2 separate regions of the Homo sapiens genome follow, and region 1 is linked to region 2. The links are contacts of gene promoters, found by promoter capture Hi-C in blood cells and fetal thymus (Javierre and others, 2016). All regions are on one chromosome and are shown on one strand. The core of a region is centred on a gene start or on the middle of the fragment in contact, and the rest is flanking DNA. Distances in the headings are between cores, read along the strand shown. Region 1 overlaps IL6ST (interleukin 6 cytokine family signal transducer). Region 2 holds the start of LINC01948 (long intergenic non-protein coding RNA 1948).

Evidence for each region. The method cuts DNA at HindIII sites, captures the fragments that hold promoters and counts their contacts. A CHiCAGO score of 5 or more calls a contact.
Region 1: a contact is called between a fragment that was not itself captured here and the fragment with the promoter of LINC01948 in region 2, in 2 of 17 cell types (naive B cells and total B cells). The highest score is 6.8, in naive B cells.

Annotation. Positions count from the first base shown.
Region 1 is chr5:55,935,012-55,937,711 of GRCh38, reverse strand. It overlaps IL6ST (interleukin 6 cytokine family signal transducer), which reads left to right. Exons shown (of 17, transcript NM_002184.4): 17 at 1-2,617. Among named protein-coding and RNA genes, the nearest start is that of IL6ST, 59 kb to the left of the region's middle. The HindIII fragment of the contact is 1,342 bases long and covers 602-1,943 here.
Region 2 is chr5:56,480,326-56,483,125 of GRCh38, reverse strand. LINC01948 (long intergenic non-protein coding RNA 1948) reads left to right here and starts at 1,357. Exons shown (of 5, transcript NR_104664.1): 1 at 1,357-1,573. RefSeq lists enhancers at 1,429-1,588, 2,789-2,800. The HindIII fragment of the contact is 6,332 bases long and covers 1-2,800 here.

The sequences.
Region 1 (2,700 bases), core at 23-2,522, 550 kb after region 2:
CAGGTATTGTTAGATTATATTGTGCTGATAAGATTACTTTCTAAAAAATTTGTACTTTTCTGTAAATTAAAAGAATATGGAGTCATAAAATGGCAAGTGTTTTAGGATTAGCCTAAAATTGGACATTGTCATTGATTTCAAAGAAGGTATGAACTAGCAGTCTTACAGCCTAATTCTTCTTTGGACTGGTCCTTGGCAGCAGTTCCTTTTCAGACTCGATAAACAGAATTCAGATGATGTAAGTCAAAACAAAACTTTACAAAGCCAAGCGTATTATCTTTTGCATTAACCTATTTTTTTCCATCATACATGCTACTAGTATGTGCATTAGCATGATATTCTCATATACATTGCATTAAAAATTAAAAGGTGGCAGCTCAGGGTGAGCTCTTCTGTTGCTCATTTGTTCCTAAATTTTTAAGGGCTTTTTCTCAGTCAATAGTTTGTACAAACTGGTTAGTTTAACTTCATTACCCATTTCATTAAAGTTGATGGGTCGTGTGATGAGATGCATTTAAGGCCGATAGTGATAGATGTTTTTTTTATTTCTTGAACACAGGCTTTGTCTGAATGATGTTCTTTTATCTCTTGAACACAAGCTTTGAATGATAACTACAGGTTTTAAGTGCTGTTACATTAATACCATAATGTGATGTGTTAGAAACAAAGGGATATTTCAAAGGTAGATATTTGAAAATTCTCTAGTCTCAATATGTATGTGTATTGAATATACTCTAAAAATAAATGTGCAATTTGCTAGTAGGACAATGCAGTGACTGACTAGCATTAGGTATGTTTCTTTTATATCCTAGCTATGTCCCACTTTCTTCTAAGTGCAATCCTTTCATGTTCACTTGCTGTTTTACCCCATCTACTCTAACTTCATTTGGAAGGCTTGTCTAGAGTATAGCATGTATTTTTACCTTTGCAGTGAATTGCATGTGCTAATTGTAACCACAGCTATTTTTATGTTGACATAACTCCAAATGTTATATTAAATGTTCTATTATATATTAGCTCTAATCCCTTAAGTAAATTTTAAGAAATAAATACTTGTTCAAATTTTTTTTCTGTATGTGGTTACTATCATCTGACTATGCATATTTGTAACAGCATTTATCATTAGTGGTGTTAGCTAAATAAGCATCTTAGTGTAAATGAGATGCTTCGTGTGGGTTTTGTGACATTTTAAATGACATAATGGAATGTGATTTAAAAGAAAACCAGTACACTATCTTGGTCTTAATAACATAGAATGGAGATGGCAAATTTATCCACTAGTTTTCCAGATTTACTATTTAATAGCTGAGGTCTGAAATCGTAGCATCCTCCCTCCTAGTGGACATTAAAAAAAAAAAAAAAAAAAAAAACCTACTTGGTTGTCAAGAGCCCAAGTATGGAGGTGCTGCGCCATCTTGTGGCCTGTCTGTGCCCACCCTGCACTCTGCTGGAGTCTCCATCCTTGTTGCAGTGAGACTTGAAGTTCAAGATTGATACATGGCATCCTCCTGCTACTTCTTGAGGTTACTAAGTAGTATATGAAACTAATCAGTCAGCAAGTCCACCTGGAAGGAAAAGAAAATCTCAACTATTAATGTGCCTTCACATTGTGATTTTGTCTAAAAAAATGTAGTGAGTCAAAAAACCCACAAGCCAGCCAACAGTAACTCCTTCACATATATACCAGAGTTTATAGAAATAACATGTCAGCTTTGGGCTATGTGCTCCTTTGTTTAAAATCTTCTATTTGGTTATGGCTTGTATAGGCTCAAGCCTGATTTCTTTAAGGTGTGGTGGCTCATCTTATCCTAATGTGTATGATAGATACAGTCCATCCTGCTTTGGAAAAGATTATGTAACTCCTTGAGAGCATACTCTTTCTCTAGCCCAAAGGCAGTGAGAGAGTTTTCTTGTTCAGGATTGCTTAACTTTCCATTTAAGCTTTTTCTTTTTAAATTAATACAAACTTCTACACTTTCAAAATACGAAATATATTACAACTGCGTATAGGCTCTTCCATACTTAAGTCCAGTGCTTGGGCAAGTTAATGGAGTGAAAGACTACAAGCAAAGAGGAACTGAGGTAGAAAAAGAAGAATGTGTGAAAGCAGCAGGAAGCTCAGCCAACTCGAAAGCAGGGTGAACAGCTTGAGTCCTGTTGCTGCTGATCGGGGTTGGCTCTTGGACAACTTAGTAAGATCATGGAAAGGCTGCTTGGGTTCTCCATAGAAAAGTTCTGTCTCCATCAAGGGAGGAAAATGTACCTTTCAACTCAAAATTCAATATTTGTTTTTAAATATAGCTATTTTCCCCAACCGCTAAAGATTTTCAACAGATACGAAGCCAGAGCTTAGTTTTAGAAACCTGTGGACATTCAAACCTGATTCTTTATTCCCTGTGACTATGGTTATGTCATTTTACATGTCAAAAAAGTGTATCTAGAATTGTCATTTCTTATTTTTGAGCTTTTTTTAGTGAGAATTATCCCCTCACTTAAATGGCTTTTTATTTAAACATCTGTGCATTCTGTATGAAATTGTAGTCTTTCTGGGATAACATGGTGAGCTATATGGTGGTAATCCACACACACAAAAATAAAAGCCAAAAAAAAACCAAAACCCTCAGGTAAAGTATTTCTCTTTCTTCAACTGTCTCATTAGCCCTGGCTGTGGATGGTCTTTCTGAGACAGGCTAGCCAGAG
Region 2 (2,800 bases), core at 108-2,607:
GAGATCTCATCGTGGTTTTGATTTGCATTTCTCTGATAATCAGCAATGCTGAGCATCTTTTCACATTTGTTGGCTGCTTGCATGTCTTCTTTTGAGAAGTGTCTGTTCATGTCTTTTGCCCACTTTTTAACAGGGTTGTTTGTGTTTGTGTTTTGCTTGCATAGCTGCTTTCCATGTTCTTTTCTATGTTATCTAGAACTATAATAAAAGTAACTGCCCAGCTCTTTGGGAGGCTGGGGCAGGCGAATCACTTGAGGTCAGGAGTTCAAGGGTAGCCTGGCCAATATGGTGAAACCCTGTCTCTATTAAAAATACAAAAATTAGCCGAGTGTGGTGGCACACACCTGGATTCCCAGCTACTCAGGAGGCTGAGGCAGGAGAATTACTTGAACCCCCAAGGCGGAGGTTGCAGTGAGCCCAGATCGCACCACTGTACTCCAGCCTGGGAGACAGAGTGAGACAGCGTCTCAAAAAAACAAAAAAAAAGGAACTAGGTCTAAGACAGGGTACCCAATCTATTTCTAAGAAGATGCTACTTCTCATTTTCTGGAAACACTGTAGCAAAGAGGAAGGGACAATAATGTCCCATAGTGGGTGGGCAGATATAAAAACCCCAAGATGTTCATTTCAGGCCCAAAGTGACTACTGCTTGCTACCCTCACCTTTCTCTGCTGGAACACTACCAGCCCCTGTGAGATGTGGGTGATCTCATGGGTGTTTGGAAGAATCCCAGTACCAGGCTAGGGGATCATCAAAGCTGACTGGATCAGTCCTGCTAGATCAGGAAGCCTTACTGAGTAAGGCTAATGCCAGGTCTCCAAACTGCCACTGAGCATCAGGGGTCCTTCCCACAATATCTTTGTTTCTCTAGGTCAAGAAATGATGCCGTCCCTAGAAACAGCGCAATGTTTATGTAAGAGTCAACTCAGAGACCTTGTGCCGGTACAAGAGGTACTATCTCATCCTGCTCCCCTGCAGGCACTAAATGAGACAAAATTCCTTCTGGAGTTCAAGTCCAGAAGGCTGACTATGCTGTTAATGGCAGTATACTGAGTTAAGAGAATTCGGGGAGACGGGAATATTGGGTCCACGATTCTGCCTGGAGGGAAGAATTGTGGTCTCCTCAGTCCTGTGGAGTAGGGGTCCGGGCTGATGATAGCGCCTCCTGGTGCAGAGTATACAAACAGCTGAAGATCTGCCTGGACCCCCTACCCCTCTCTTTTTTCCTTGTGGAAACTGTGTATAATTTGGAAAGAGCAAGGACATCCTGGCTCGCAGCTGGCCAGCTCCACCTGCGACCTGGACAGCCTCGCCCCTCCCTGCGGAGCCAGGCGAGTTCACAGGGCTGCCTCCGCTTCTTGCAGCATGTCTGCTCTCCTGGCCTGGCCTCTCCAGACCTTTCCCTCCACGGGCAGCGATTTCCAAGGCTCTCAAGACTCCAAACCACGTCGTTTTGGGAGTGAAAAAGTGAAAGCACACATCGTGTCATTAGAGCAGCAGGGACCAGCTGCTGGGTCAACACTTCCGAAAACAGCGCTTCCTGGGGAGCGACCGGAGCATCTCAGAATCTACGGTTTGACCTCCTGCCAATTCTCATGGTGTCTTTATACATTTTAACACAAAAATAAGATGTTTTCACTTGAGAGCGAGAGGGAAATGAACTGTTAAGGTGCTCTGTCGCCAGAGAAGTGAAGTTGGGGGGTAAATTTTAGGAACCCCCGACCCCCCTACCGAGGGAGGATGCGAAGTCGGCTCCTGAAACGCGAGCGAAACCCCCGCGCGCTTCCCGGGGTGACGCACATGTCTGTGTTTCTTTTTGCTTTTGACCAAAAGTCGTAGGGAGGGTCCTCCTCAGGGGACAGTCGCGGGCGCTGTGCCAGTCCTTCCTGTCCCCCCACCAAAGTCAACCCCAGCCCCAGGCCAAGGCCGCCCCGGCCGGAAGAGCCAGCTGGTGGGGGCCGTGGGGGGCGCGGCGGGCGCGCGGGGCTGGGGGCGGCGGGTCCGCCTACCCCGCCTTCCTGGCGTGGAGAGTTTCGGCCCCAGCCTCGCTGGCGTGGACTCTGCCTGAACCACGCCTGGGATGCTTTTGCCAAAGGAAACTTGGGGGGTGGGGGCGGGGCGGGCGACGATTCCCCCCCTCCCCACCCCGCCCCTGTCCTCCTCGGCCGGGAGCCGCGCTGGGCCGGGGTCAGCTGGCTGCCTTTGTGGCCGCTTCCCAGGAAGGAAGAAGCGTTGTCTGCAGATCAGTTGATCCGCGGGCTTTCCTGTGTCGGAATGCCGCCGTTTTCCGGGGACGGCTGCCACCCCCGTGATTCCCAGCCGGGGCTGCCGGCCGTGCGTAAGAGCCGGATAAATAGGCCATTGTGAGGCCGTTCAGATCTAGGTTTCTTATCACAGTATCCACCAGCGAGAAGCAGATTCGGCCCCTGATGGAGCTCATCCCAGCTTCTCTTTTCTTTCTCTGCACAGTTACAGCCATTTCTATTTTTTGCAGTTGTAAAGGGAATATTCAGAAAGCAATTTATTGTGTGCGACAGGGACTTAAGGGAGCGTGTCTGCAGACCGTGTTCCCACCGGGGTTGGGGTTCGCAACCTTGAGTTTAGCTCGATGGGCTTTGGTGTGTGAGGTTTCTACCCGCCCATCGCCCAAGGCAGGCACGTCCTTAAACACCAGCTGCAAGTATCAGGAGGGCAAGTCCGTAGGTCTCTAGATCCAGTGGGTTGGCTTTTTGGTGTTTGTTTTGTTTTGTGATAGCCTTGATCTGCTTTGTGGACACTGAAAATTTGAAGGTCGAGGGAA